Regions from separate parts of the Homo sapiens genome. Here region 2 is linked to region 1. The links are contacts of gene promoters, found by promoter capture Hi-C in human tissues and cell types (Jung and others, 2019). All regions are on one chromosome and are shown on one strand. Each heading gives the region's core, a stretch centred on a gene start or on the middle of the fragment in contact. The rest is flanking DNA. Distances are from core to core; before and after follow the strand shown.

Region 1 (6,464 bases), core at 2,931-5,430:
GATTTGAAGGGAGCAGCTTTCTGGAATGACTTGGGGTTTGGTGCTTCATTCCCACGAGGAGGCGAATCTGGCTGCAAAACACTTCACTGTGTGCCTTCCAGGAGGAAACCACTTCTCTCCAAGCCCCAGTGTCCATATCTGAAAAGAAGCGAGTTGGATTGGATCCACAGGACATTGGTCGTTAAGAGTGTAGACTTGGCACTGGATGGCCTTGGTCCACATCCTGGCTCTGCCACTCACTAGCTGTGTGACCTTGGGCAAGTTACATAATGTCTCTGTATCTCAGTTTCCCCTTCTGTAAAATGGGGTTAGTGATCAATTCTGCCTTTTGGATTTGTTGTGAGGGATTAAATGAGTTAACATAACTAAAGATTCAAAAGAATATCTGGCATGTAGCAAGAACTCTATCAGGGTTAAATACTGTTGTTACTGCTATAATGTTATTGCTGTTGTTAGATGCCCTCAATGGTCCTGTCTGGCTCTGACATTCTGTGAGAGTCTACACTGCCTCAATAGACTGAAGCCTGTTGTGGCTCAGCCATTCCTGGAAAGTGGAGTGGGATTTCCTCCCCAGCTTCTCCTCATTGAGGGTCCAAAGGACCCCCTCCTGTAGCCCTTGCGCCAGCTGAGCCTGCTGGACTAGGCCCTTCCAGATTAGGGATTGGCTCCTGACTCAAGTTTCTCTGTCACTGAAAGCCAGCTTTGCAAACATGAAATTACCCTTGGGGTCTCCAAGGTCTTCTTTCCCATGAGGCTACATGGGATTCATTACACTGCAGGTGAGGTGAGAAAGACATGAACTAAGGCTGACACATGGGCTGGACTGGAGATAGGGAGGAATATCGGCTAGGCAGGCAGCTGGGGGGCAGAGTGGATGGTTCAAGGGAGCAGGTGGACTGGAGGGCATCCTTGACCGTGGCCAAGGAGGATGGAAGGAAGCACAGGAGGGGTGTTGTTTGTCCACTGGTCCTCCCAGCTCCATCTTCCTGGGTAGGGACTGTGGTTGAAATAGAATCTTATGCCCTAGCTCCAGGCTTAGAGAAGGCCCCTAGTCTCTGAAGACATCTCCACAGGGCAGCTCATAGTCTTCTACCTTTCACAAAGACCTGCTCTGTTGGTGTTGTGTGGTGTATGTGTATGTTTGTGTGTGAGCATGTTTGCATGTCTTTGATTAGAATCTTCCTCTGCTAACCCATCTACATGGACCCCATTGGGTGCAAGAGAGGACACCCTCCCCTGGACAGCACCCTCAGTGACTCACCCAGCTGGGACAGAACCAGTTTTACACCAAGCATAGAGGCAATGAACGCCTGTGAATGAATTTAAACTCTCTCCTGAGTCACATGGACTGCTTTTCAAGTCCACATGGCCTTCCCCATTCAGTCACAGGACTGTGGAAGGTTCAAATTGGCCAGGATCTCAGAGATCATCTCATCTGACCCATGCCATCAGGAGTAAAAGGGTCCCAAGAGAGGCCTTTATGGGGCCTGAGCCTCTTGGTACCTGCCATATAATGCATTTCGTTCTTGTGGGGACAGGAGAGCATTAATGAATTCTGAACCTATCCCTACCCAAAGTCCCTGAGCCCTTTCCATAAGGCACTGAGGAACAATGAATAATGCACACAAATTCACTGCCCAGAGTTCTTTTGACATGGATATTCCCCTAATCGATGAAGGTAAGGTCTTGTGTCTTTTTTTTTTTTTTTTTTGAAACGGAGTCCCACTCTGTCACCAGGCTGGAGTGCAGTGATGCGATCTCAGCTCACTGCAACCTCCGCCTCCCGGGTTCAAGCGATTCTCCTGCCTCACCTCCCAAGTAGCTGGGACTACAGGCATATGCCACCACAGCCAGCTAATTTTTGTATCTTTAGTAGAGACGGGGTTTCACCATGTTGGCCAGGATGGTCTCAATCTCCTGACCTTGTGATCTGCCCGCCTCAGCCTCCCAAAGTGGTGGGATTACAGGCATGAGCCACTGTGCCCGGCCAGGACTTGTCTCTTTATCTCCCAAAGGAAAAGTCTATCAGGAGGTGTAATAAGATTATACCCTGGGAAGTGGTGGTGGATGGCTGGCGATCCAGACATAGCTAAATATTACTGGACACTACATTTGATAGAGGATAAAGTGGGGAGAGTGGTAAAAACTGTGTAACTCATTCTCAGTTCCTTGGAGTCCCGAAATTTCCATTTTATTGCAACGATAGGGATCCATGTATGACACAGCGCAGAGAGGAGTAGGTCCCCTAATGTGGGCTGCTGTTAAAACATGGAAAATGGGGTGAGTGTAGTGGCTCATGCTTGCCATTCCAGCACTTTGGGAGGCCGGCATGGGAGGATCACTTGAGCCCAGGAGTTTGAGACCAGCCTGGGCAACATGGCAAGATCTCATCTCTGTTTAGGAAACAACAACAACATCATGGAAAATGGAGGCCAGTTAGCAGGGCACACCTTGACTCGTGGATCTGCAGGCCATCCCCAGGCCCCAGGGAAGAGCACATGGGCTGTCTAGGGGGGCAACAGAGGCACGTGAAATGCTAAAGGCTCTGCATTGGGCCATGTTCACAGCCTCCTCCTTCCCCCTCCTGGAATGATGCAGCCTCCTCCTTCCCCCTCCTGGAATGATGCAGCATTGTGGCTCAGGAGGCCCCTGGAGCTCAGGGCCCCACCATGAGAAAGAACACCCTAGGGTGTTCTCCTGGGACTGCACTCCTGGGAGGTAGACTCCTGCCTCTCACTTTCTCCTTCCTCCAATCCCTTCCATTTCTGCAGCCAGAATGAGTTCTTCTAAAATGCAGATTGGATCCTGTCACCCCTCCAGCTTAAACAAACCTCAGTAACCTTTACAATAGAGATCAAAACTCTTCAATGGCCCCCAAAGCCTACCTGTCCAAACTCAACTCTCACTGCCACTCTTTCCCTTGCTCTCCAAGGTCCAGCCCTCCCCTCACACTCTCCATTGTCTCCTTTGGAGCCCCTACATCTACCTGCCCCATTAGACTGTGAACTTCATGATGGGAGGGCCCTGTCACTTGCTTACCTTTGTATTCCTAGGGCTTAACACAGTGCCAGAGCCAGGGCTCAACCCACGGTAGGTGTTCAACACATGTTTGTTGAACAAATGAAAGACCAGCCCTGACACTCAGAAACACACAGGGAGGACACACAAATGTATGTGTGTGTGCATGCATGCACACACATACACGTACTTGCGCAGAAGAGGTCAAACACCTCCCCTCTCGGAGCACATCCAGAGGTAGCGCCTGTAGAAATTGGCAAGATGCTAATCAACACATGTAAATATTCAGTGTCCTCCCCTGGATGCAAACATTCACCCCATTTCCCTTCTACTTCACCTGAATCCTCAATCAAGCCTCGCTTATGGGTGGCAACAAAGCAGTTCTCTGTCCTTAAGGAGAGAGAAGGTGGCTCTTTCAAAGCACACCAGGTGGCCTTATCTCCTGGGCCTCACCTGCCCTCCACTCTCCTTAAGAAAATCTGTTACCAGCCATTGTATTTCCAATTTCCACTTGCCATCCATCTGTCCGACCAAAAACCCAACCATCTGCCCTGCCGACTTCGCCCCCAACCCTGCTGGTCAGGTCACCCCTTCTGTTCCTTGAAAAGCTCCTGAGCAAGCTCACCTTCTCCAGCAGGCCTGCTGACTACACAGTTCCCAGGGTCTCCTCCTTCCTGGTCACTCTCGGTGGACTCTGTGTCTGTGACTCCGTTAATGGCTGCCTTCCCTCCCACTCCCAAAGTTTGCTGCCTGTTTGATACCACTTGGAGGTGTGATTCCCAAGAGGGCAGTGGCTTATGTATCTGTGTGACTTATGGTGTCAAAGGTCCCAAGGGACCAGCTTAGCTGAAAAGTTAAGGGTTTGGATGATGAAAATGTCCTTGCTAAAAAGGGTCGTATAAATGAGGCTTCATGGGGCAAATTTACACTAAGCCAGTCTGGTTAAGAGCTTAAAGCTCTGCAAAGCGAGGAGTTGGATGGACTGATGTCACAGGACCCTTCCATCTCTGACCTCCTCTGAGCTAGAATGTTAGCCCTGGGGGCCTTGCCCTGCCAAGCCTGGACTGGAGGAGAAGGAGGAGGCGGGGTGAGTGGGAGGGGCAGAGGGAGCAGAGGCGCCTGCAGCAACCGACACCTGCTCCAGCCCTGCCTGTCCACTACCAGTCAATCCAGAGCCTCAGCAAGCAGCAGCTGGAAACGGGGAAGAGGGAGCAGACAGGAAGCGGGAGGTCAGCTGTACACCCAGGTAAGTGGGTGCTCACACCTGGCTGCCCACCCGGGCCAGGGTAGGGCCAGGATGGAGACACTAGCCTGCTGTCCAGCTTTTCTACGCAGGAAGGGGCAGGCAGTGGGCAGGATGTCTGCCTGGGGAACATTCCCTGGCTGGCGGATCACACGCTGGGGTGCACCTGTATCCCCTCTAGGTTACTCCAGGATATCTGGAGGAGAGAATTTCAGTGTGTCCTGTCTGGGCATTTCTGTCCTGGCTCTAATTTTCTGGACACGGCTTGACTTTGGGTGTGATACGATGACCAGATTAAAAATATCACTAGCAGTCCAGAATAAGGACCTCGGGCTGGGACTTGTTATATTTTGGTTAGTATCATGGTCAAAGCAGTTGAGAGAACTCCATTTGGCTCTTCCTGCCTCAATTTCTACCAGTTGAGAGGTAGCAGGGACCAACTGGAGGTAGCAGGGACCTGGATGTGCAGGATGGATCCGGGGAGGGTAGGGAAAAAGGATGGGGAGCCATAGGTCCTGGAGAGGGGGCAGGGAGGGACTGTCCCAGGATCCAGTGCTGAGAGTGTTGTTGGGACAGCTGAAGTGAGGACACAAACTGCTGTTTCCTTCTGGGAAGAACTGGAGTTCTTCTCAAATGTGGGAATGAATTATGGAGGAGAGAATTCATTTCCTTTCTCATCCCTTCCAACTGAGACTACATCCCTCTAGTCTCCAATCCAACAGATCTCTTTCCCTGTGTCATTGACTTTGTACCAAATCTGGCTTATTCTAAAAGAGAGTGGAGCTCCAGAAGTGGATGCTTAACGTCACATCCCTAAGTTCCCCCAAGAGCTTTGCTTCTTTTGCCCTCCTCTGCTGGGAGCTGTAGGCAGGAGGCTGGAGGGAGAAGAGTGGTATCAGCGTCATCCTTCTTCATGTGTGACCAATAGCTGAGTAACAGGATGATAGCTGCTCGTGGTGATGATGTGGGTGACGATGGGGATGATGACTCAGATAGCTGTGTTGAACTCAAACTACTCCAGTGTGGGGGTCACCGACTGGCACCAGTGCACTTGCATCTACCAGGAGGCTGCACTGAGGGGTGGGTGGGATGGGGGCCCTTGCAGCCCTCCCCCTGGCCGTGTCCAGCTGGGTCCTCATCCGTTGGTGGCTGCCTTCCCTCCCACCCTTCCTCGTGACTCCCTTCGGCGTAGTGCCTGTGGCACCCGTGACCACTCCAGAACGCAGTTGGCGTACCATGGCATTCCAGCACGCTAGGGTGCAGCGGCTGGGCTGGCGAGGGGCTGCCAGGGGTCAGAAGTGCCAGTGGGTGGCCGTTGCGAAATGGAATGATCTCCATGGGAGAGAGGAATTTGCTCTGTCATGTGTGATTCTATATTAATGATAAGGCTCTTTGGGCAGAAAATGGAGTCCCCAAAATGGAACCGCTTGGCCATGGGCCAATCGCACAGAGGGTGGGACTGCTGGAAGATTCTTTCAAGACATCCCCCCTCCCTGATTTATGGCTCTCATCCCACCCCAGACCCAACCCCCTTCCTCTCCTGTGTGGGACTCCCCATTGGCCATAACAGATGGATGCAATTAAGAGGAAATCAGGAGAGATGGTGGTGGTGAGAGAATGGAAAATACTCCTATTCACCTGACACTATAATTCACTGGCTTCTGAGGGGAGCAGATGGATTTATGGGGATCCTACAGGCCTGGGCCAAGAAGAGCTTAAGAGCAGCAAATTTGAGGCCTCTCCCCTGCAGACCTTGTGACTGGAAGGATTCTAGATTGGTGGAGCGTGGGAAGTAGAGGGCTTCAGTGTCCTGCCAGAAAATCTCAGAGTTGGGGGAAGAGCCAGGAGGCCCAAAGAATGTCCTTGGAGAATTCCCATTCCAAAGCCAATGGGGCAAGCTGAAAGGAGCCTGAATCCTTTCACAGCTGAAATCCTTTCACAGCTGAATCCTTACACAGCTGAAAGGATCCTGAATGGGTCTGATTTCCTCAGGTTTGGGAGGGTTGTGTCTCATGTTCTGGGCAGGGTAATCAGGTCTGGGGTCCCACCAGGAGGCCAGGCCACCAGCACAGTGTGCAGGCTCAGCTTATGGTTCCCTTTACCTGGGAATGTTACCAACTGGGTAGCATGCTACCCACTCCCTGGTCTCTGGGAAATTGGTTTTGCTGGGGACAGGGAATTGCAGGAAACTAATCAGTGCCAT
Region 2 (6,713 bases), core at 227-2,726, 39 kb after region 1:
ACTCTCGAAACACCCCAGCTTGTGTACACATGTAGTCCCGGAACGAAGATGGCATTGGGGGTGATTATGGTTCCCCGAGGGGCCAGCAAAGGGCTTTGCCCAAGCTTAGAGAGCACGTGGTGGCTCCAGATTTGAACCCACACCCCCTGATGGCAGAGCCTGTAGTCTAAGCCCCATTCTGAGTTTTCTTCACCACTGAACAGATGCAGGGTGGGGTGGCTGCCCCTCTGAACCAACTGGAATATCCTGTGTCTTGCAGAACCCAGCACCTAGCCTCACCTCACCCTGGGATGGTCCTGGACCCTTGAAGCTTCACTTCCGACACCTGCACTGGCCCGGGAAGCCAATCCCAAGGATGGAGGCTGTGCCCAGAGCCCCAGGAAAATGGGAGTGAGAAGATGCCTGGCGAGGTTTTGGCCAGGAGGACGTGAAGTCCTTGGGGAAGAAAAACAAGGGAGGAGGGCATTCCACCTCCTGGCTCCAAGCTAAGTCACTCAACAGAATGACAGCGAACCTCCTGGACCCTCACCATATGGGTTTCTTTCTTCTTCGCTTCAGGAGATCCAGAGGGCACCTGCCTGCAGGATGGGCCGGCTCCTTATTTTCCTGGGCTGAGCCGTTTGGAGGGAGGGTGGGCACAGCTGGGCCTGCTGTGACCACTGGGAGGGAAGAGGAGAGGAGGTCAGAGGACCTGGGTGAGGACTAGGGCATCAAGGTCGTGTGTGTGGGTGGGGGCAGCCTCCACCTCCTGGATTCAAGAGATTCCAGGGGTGCAGCAAGTGCTTTCTATGCGTTTCTTCATTAAAACATTAGGCTAATACAGGCAGATCATTGGCAAATTTACTTGGGGTGGGTGTGTTGGAGGAAAGATTTCCAAAGCGGAGCCTTTATTCCAGGCTTCAGTTGGGAGGATGGGTGGGTTCTGGATAGAGGAAGAACGGGCTCAGAACTGGACTCTTCTCCTGCAGCCCAGGCCTACATAGTTGATTGCAAGGGCGAGAAAGCCAAGAAGGGTTAGAGGGTAATGGAGAGGCTTCTCTTCCTCCTGGCCTTTGTTTCCTGCACTCTTCTGACTGGCAGAAATCCTGTGAGCAGCAGGGCTGGAGGCCTCCCCAGGTGTTACGTGTGTGGGGACCACAGGGCTGGGGTTGCCTAGGGTTGGCCTATGTCCGTCACTCCCCGGGACCAGAAAGAGTCTGAGTTGGGGAGAATCCTACTCCAGGATCTATGCCCCTGTCAGAAGGGGAAGAAAGAGGCTCTCAAGTGCATGAGGGTGACTCTCACTCAAGGCTGCATGAGGCCTCCTCACCTTCTTCACAGTCCCCACTGCCCCATGTCACAGGAGGGATGGGATGCCTCCCTTTCCCAGGTGGGTCACCCCACCACTGCCCCCAGAACTCTTGCACTCCATTATCCTCAAGGCATGGCCCCCAAACTCTCAGGCTCCCAGGAAATATTCCAGAGTTTCCAGGAGCCAAAAGAAAGGAAGGAGCCCCGGGGAAGGCTGAACCCCACTCTCTCCCAGGGCATCAGCTCTGAGGCCCAGCAGGTGACCCGATGAGCTAGAACACTGTCTGCCCTTCACTCCCTCTGCTCAGATCCTGGCTTCTGCTTCCCTCAGCCTCCCTTTGCCACTAACTGCAGGTCAGATGCATGAAGGAAGGAGGGTGAATCACAGGAGGAAGGGTTAATGCCAAAAATCTGTTTCTGAAGAGTGAGAATATGTGACCAAGGGAAGGTTCTCTGAACCGGAGAGAGAACTGTTCACCTAAAATAGACCAAGAGTGTCCCCCAGAGGCAGGGACACACACCAGACAACCTTTTATAGCTCATTCCTTCCCCTACCAAAGAAACCTGCATGAGCTGTTTTCCTTGGAATTTCTCTTGTTATCTCTACCTTGCTAACACAGCAGGCCAACACCATGGCCATAGGAAAAGAAGGAAGTTCTTAGAAACTGAGAGGCAGTGGCTGGACACCTCAGCCTGTGTGGGGCAGTTCTCATGAGTTCTTTCCATGCTGCACGGTCCTGGAGTTGAAGGAGGGCAGGGCCTCAGGCCAATAGTCTGTGGTTTCAGAAATGCAGAGAAGAGGTCGTTTGCACAGAGGGGGTGACCCAGTGCCTGTGGCATGCCTAGCTCTGAGCAGACACTCATATTGAGGATGAGAAGAGAGACCTTTCTGTACCTCTAAGGGTGGGCTACAGGGGACTGACCTATTGAGGCAATATAAGGACAAAAGACTATAACTCATGATGGCTTCATAAGACACCTTCATTTTTTTTTTATGAGCCTGGATCAGGCACTGTGGAGGCGGAGATGAAGATGACTCAGATATGAGTCCTATAGCCAAGGGATCCATGGCAGGGACGCAAGACTTGAATACCAAGAGCCATAATCCAAGGTAGCCTGTGATGCATATTCTAAGAAAGGCACCAATAAAGTCTAGAGGAGTTCAGAGGAGGAGAGATGCTGCAGACTGAGAACCTCAAGGAGGGCTTCGTAAAGTGGTAACATGCTTGAGGGAAAAGTAGCAACTGGACAGGCAGGAATGGGCAAGGGTGTATCACGGTGGAGAACACCATGAGCAAAGGCAAGGAGGTAGGGAAGCACAAATTGGGTTCGAGGGCTGGCAAATGGTTCAGATTAGACAATTCAGGGTGACCTATGTAGCTATCACAGCCCTTTGGTCTAATGCCAAAGGGAAACATTCTAGGACCAAATTTACAGGTGCATGTGTGCTCTGGGCGCCAACCACGATGGAGGTGGAGTTCCTGCCCTTGGAGGCCTGGGACAGTGGAAAGCAGTTGTCTCTTTTGGCAGTGGACAGCAGAGTGCCAATATCCTGGGGCAGGCCAAGTTAGGTGTCCCTGGGAGGGGCTAGCATACTTCTGTAACTGGGGTGGGATATGAAGACAAAAGGAATGGTCATGGCATTTTCATTCATTTCCACACAAAGCCAAAAAAAGTCCCTGCCAGTCAAGTATAGAATCTGAGCGTATCTCAAAATAATAAGAGCTATTTGTGACAAACCCACAGCCAATATCATACTGAATGGGCAAAAACTGGAAGCATTCCCTTTGAAAACTGGCACAAGACAAGGATGCCCTCTCTCACCACTCCTATTCAACATAGTGTTGGAAGTTCTGGCCAGGGCAATCAGGCAAGAGAAAGAAATAAAGGGTATTCAATTAGGAAAAGAGGAAGTCAAATTGTCCCTGTTTGCAGATGACATGATTGTATATCTAGAAAACCCCATTGGTTCAGCCCGAAATCTCAAGCTGATAAGCAACTTCAGCAAAGTCTCAGGATACAAAACCAATGTACAAAAATCACAAGCATTCCTATACACCAATAACAGAAAAACAGAGAGCCAAATCATGAGTGAACTCCCATTCACAATTGCTACAAAGAGAATAAAATACCTAGGAATCCAACTTACAAGGGATATGAAGGACCTCTTCAAGGAGAACTACAAACCACTGCTCAATGAAATAAAAGAGGACACAAACAAGTGGAAAAACACTCCATGCTCATGGATAGGAAGAATCAGTATTGTGAAAATGGCCATACTGCCCAAAGTAATTTATAAATTCAATGCCATCTCCATCAAGCTACCAATGACTTTCTTCACAGAATTGGAAAAAACTACTTTAAAGTTCATATGGAACCAAAAAAGAGCCCACATATCCACAATCCTAAGCAAAAAGAACAAAGCTGGAAGTGTCATGCTACCTGACTTCAAACTATACTACAAGGCTACAGTAACCAAAACAGCATGGTACTGGTACCAAAACAGAGATATAGACCAATGGAACAGAACGGAGGCCTCAGAAATAGCACCACACATCTAAAACCATCTGATCTTTGACAAACCTGAGAAAAACAAGAAATGGCAAAAAGATTCCCTATTTAATAAATGGTGCTGGAAAAACTGGCTAGCCATATGTAGAAAGCTGAAACTGGATCCCTTCCTTACACCTTATACAAAAATTAATTCAAGATGGATTAAAGACTTAAATGTTAGACCTAAAACCATAAAAACCCTAGAAGAAAACCTAGGCAATATCATTCAGGACATAGGCATGGGCAAAGATTTCATGACTAAAACACCAAAAGCAATGGCAACAAAAGCCAAAACAGACAAATGGGATCTACTTAAACTAAAGAGCTTCTGCACAGCAAAAGAAACTACCATCAGAGTGAACAGGCAACCTATATAATGGGAGAAAATGTTTGCAATCTACCCATCTGACAAAGGGCTAATATCCAGAATTTAAAAGGAACTTAAACAAGTTTACAAGAAAAAAACAAACAAGCCCATCAAAAAGTGGGCAAAGGATATGAACAGACACTTCTCAAAAGAAGACATTTAGGTAGCCAACAAACACGTGGAAAAATGCTCATCATCTCTGGTCATCAGAGAAATGCAAATCAAAACCACAATGAGATACCATCTCATACCAGTTAGAGTGGCGATCATTAAAAAATCAGGAAACAACAGATGCAGGAGAGGATGTGGAGAAATAGGAACACTTTTACACTGTTGGTGGGAGTGTAAATTACACTGTTGGTTGGTGGGTGGGAGTTCAACCATTGTGGAAGACAGTGTGGTTATTCCTCAAGGATCTAGAACTAGAAATACCATTTGACCCAGCGATCCCATTACTGGGTATATACCCAAAGGATTATAAATCATGCTACTATAAACACATATGCATACGTATGTTTATTGCAACACTATTCACAATAGCAAAGACTTGGAACCAACCCAAATGTCCATCAATGATAGACTGGATTAGGAAAATGTGGCATATATACACCATGGAATACTATGCAGCCATAAAAAAGGATGAGTTCATGTCCTTTGCAGGGACATGGGTGAAGCTGGAAACCATCATCCTCAGCAAACTATCACAAGGACAGAAAACCAAACACTGCTTGTTCTCACTCACAGGTGGGAATGGAACAATGAGAAAACTTGGACAGAGGGTGGGGAACATCACACATGAGGGCCTGTTGGAGGGTGGGGGGCTGGGGGAGGGATAGCATTAGGAGAAATAGCTAATGTAAATGACGAGTTGATGGGTGCAGCAAACCAACATGGCACATGTATACCTATGTAACTAACCTGCATGTTGTGCACATGTACCCTAGAACTTAAAGTATAATGAAAAAAAAAAAGCATCTAAGCATAAGTTTAAGGGTTTAAAGACTAGTTCCACTACTAACTAGTTGCGCAAGATCTTTAACCTATCTATGCCTTGTTCCTCATTTGTAAATTAAGAATAGGAGTTGCCTAATCAAGGTCACAAAGATTTTTCTCCTGTTTTCTTCTAGAAGTGTTATGGTTTTACTTCTTGCATTTCATTCTATGCATTTTAAGTTAATTTTTGTATGTGGTGTGTGTGGTGTGAGGTATTAAGAGTCAAGCTGGGGGGTTTTTTTTTGTCAGAGTTTCTTTTTCTCCATTGAATTACCTTGGAATGCTTGTTGAAAGTCAATTGACCATACATGTGTGGGTCGTCTTAGACTCTTTATTACTTACTCCTCTTCTATTTTCTGGAAAAGTTTGTTTAGAGTTGATGTTACATCTTCGTTAAATGTTTGGTAGAATTTACCAATAAAGCCACTGGACCTGGAGTTTTGTTTGTGGGAAGGATTTGACCTCAGATTCAATTTTTTCAACAAATATATAGGGCTATCCAAGCTACCAGTGACTTCCTGAATGAACTTTGATAACTTGCGACTTTTAAAGAATTTGTCAATTTCATCTACATTGTTGAATTTGTTGGTACAAAGTTGTTTATAATATTCCCTTATAATCATTTTACTATCTGTAGGCTCTGTAGTGATATCCTCTTTCATTCTTCATAGTAGAAACATGTATCTTCTTTTTATTCTTAATCTGTTACCTCATTATCTTTTCTCACTTATCTTTTTTTTTCATTTCACAGTTCCTTTCATTTTCTTTTTTTATTTTTATTTTATTATTATTATACTTTAAGTTTTAGGGTACATGTGCACAATGTGCAGGTTAGTTACATATGTATACATGTGCCATGCTGAGGTGCTGCACCCATTAACTCGTCATTTAGCATTACGTATATCTCCTAATGCTATCCCTCCCCTCTCCCCCCACCCCACAACAGTCCCCAGAGTGTGATGTTCCCCTTCCTGTGTCCATGTGTTCTCATTGTTCAGTTCCCACCTATGAGTGAGAACATGCGGTGTTTGGTTTTTTGTCCTTGCGATAGTTTACTGAGAATGATGATTTCCAATTTCATCCATGTCCCTACAAAGAACATGAACTCATAATTTTTTATGGCTGCATAGTATTCCATGGTGTATATGTGCCACATTTTTTTAATCCAGTCTATCATTGTTGGACATTTGGGTTGGTTCCAAGTCCTTGCTATTGTGAATAGTGCCGCAATAAACATACGTGTGCATGTGTCTTTATAGCAACATGATTTATAGTCCTTTGGGTATATACCCAGTAATGGGATGGCTGGGTCAAATGGTATTTCTAGTTCTAGATTCCTGAGGAATCGCCACACTGACTTCCACCATGGTTGAACTAGTTTACAGTCCCACCAACAGTGTAAAAGTGTTTCTATTTCTCCACATCCTCTCCAGCACCTGTTGTTCCCTGACTTTTTAATGATTGCCATTCTAACTGGTGTGAGATGGTATCTCATTGTGGTTTTGATTTG

The links. The method cuts DNA at HindIII sites, captures the fragments that hold promoters and counts their contacts. A contact is called where the count stands out against the background at its distance.
Region 2: a contact is called between a fragment that was not itself captured here and the fragment with the promoter of IGFN1 in region 1, in 1 of the 25 tissues and cell types used here (psoas muscle).

Annotation. Positions count from the first base shown.
Region 1 is chr1:201,186,644-201,193,107 of GRCh38, forward strand. It overlaps IGFN1 (immunoglobulin like and fibronectin type III domain containing 1), which reads left to right and starts at 4,181. Exons shown (of 24, transcript NM_001164586.2): 1 at 4,181-4,264. The HindIII fragment of the contact is 14,085 bases long and covers 1-6,464 here.
Region 2 is chr1:201,228,127-201,234,839 of GRCh38, forward strand. It overlaps IGFN1 (immunoglobulin like and fibronectin type III domain containing 1), which reads left to right. Exons shown (of 24, transcript NM_001164586.2): 24 at 260-826. The coding sequence ends at 273. Among named protein-coding and RNA genes, the nearest start is that of IGFN1, 41 kb to the left of the region's middle. The HindIII fragment of the contact is 5,710 bases long and covers 1-4,331 here.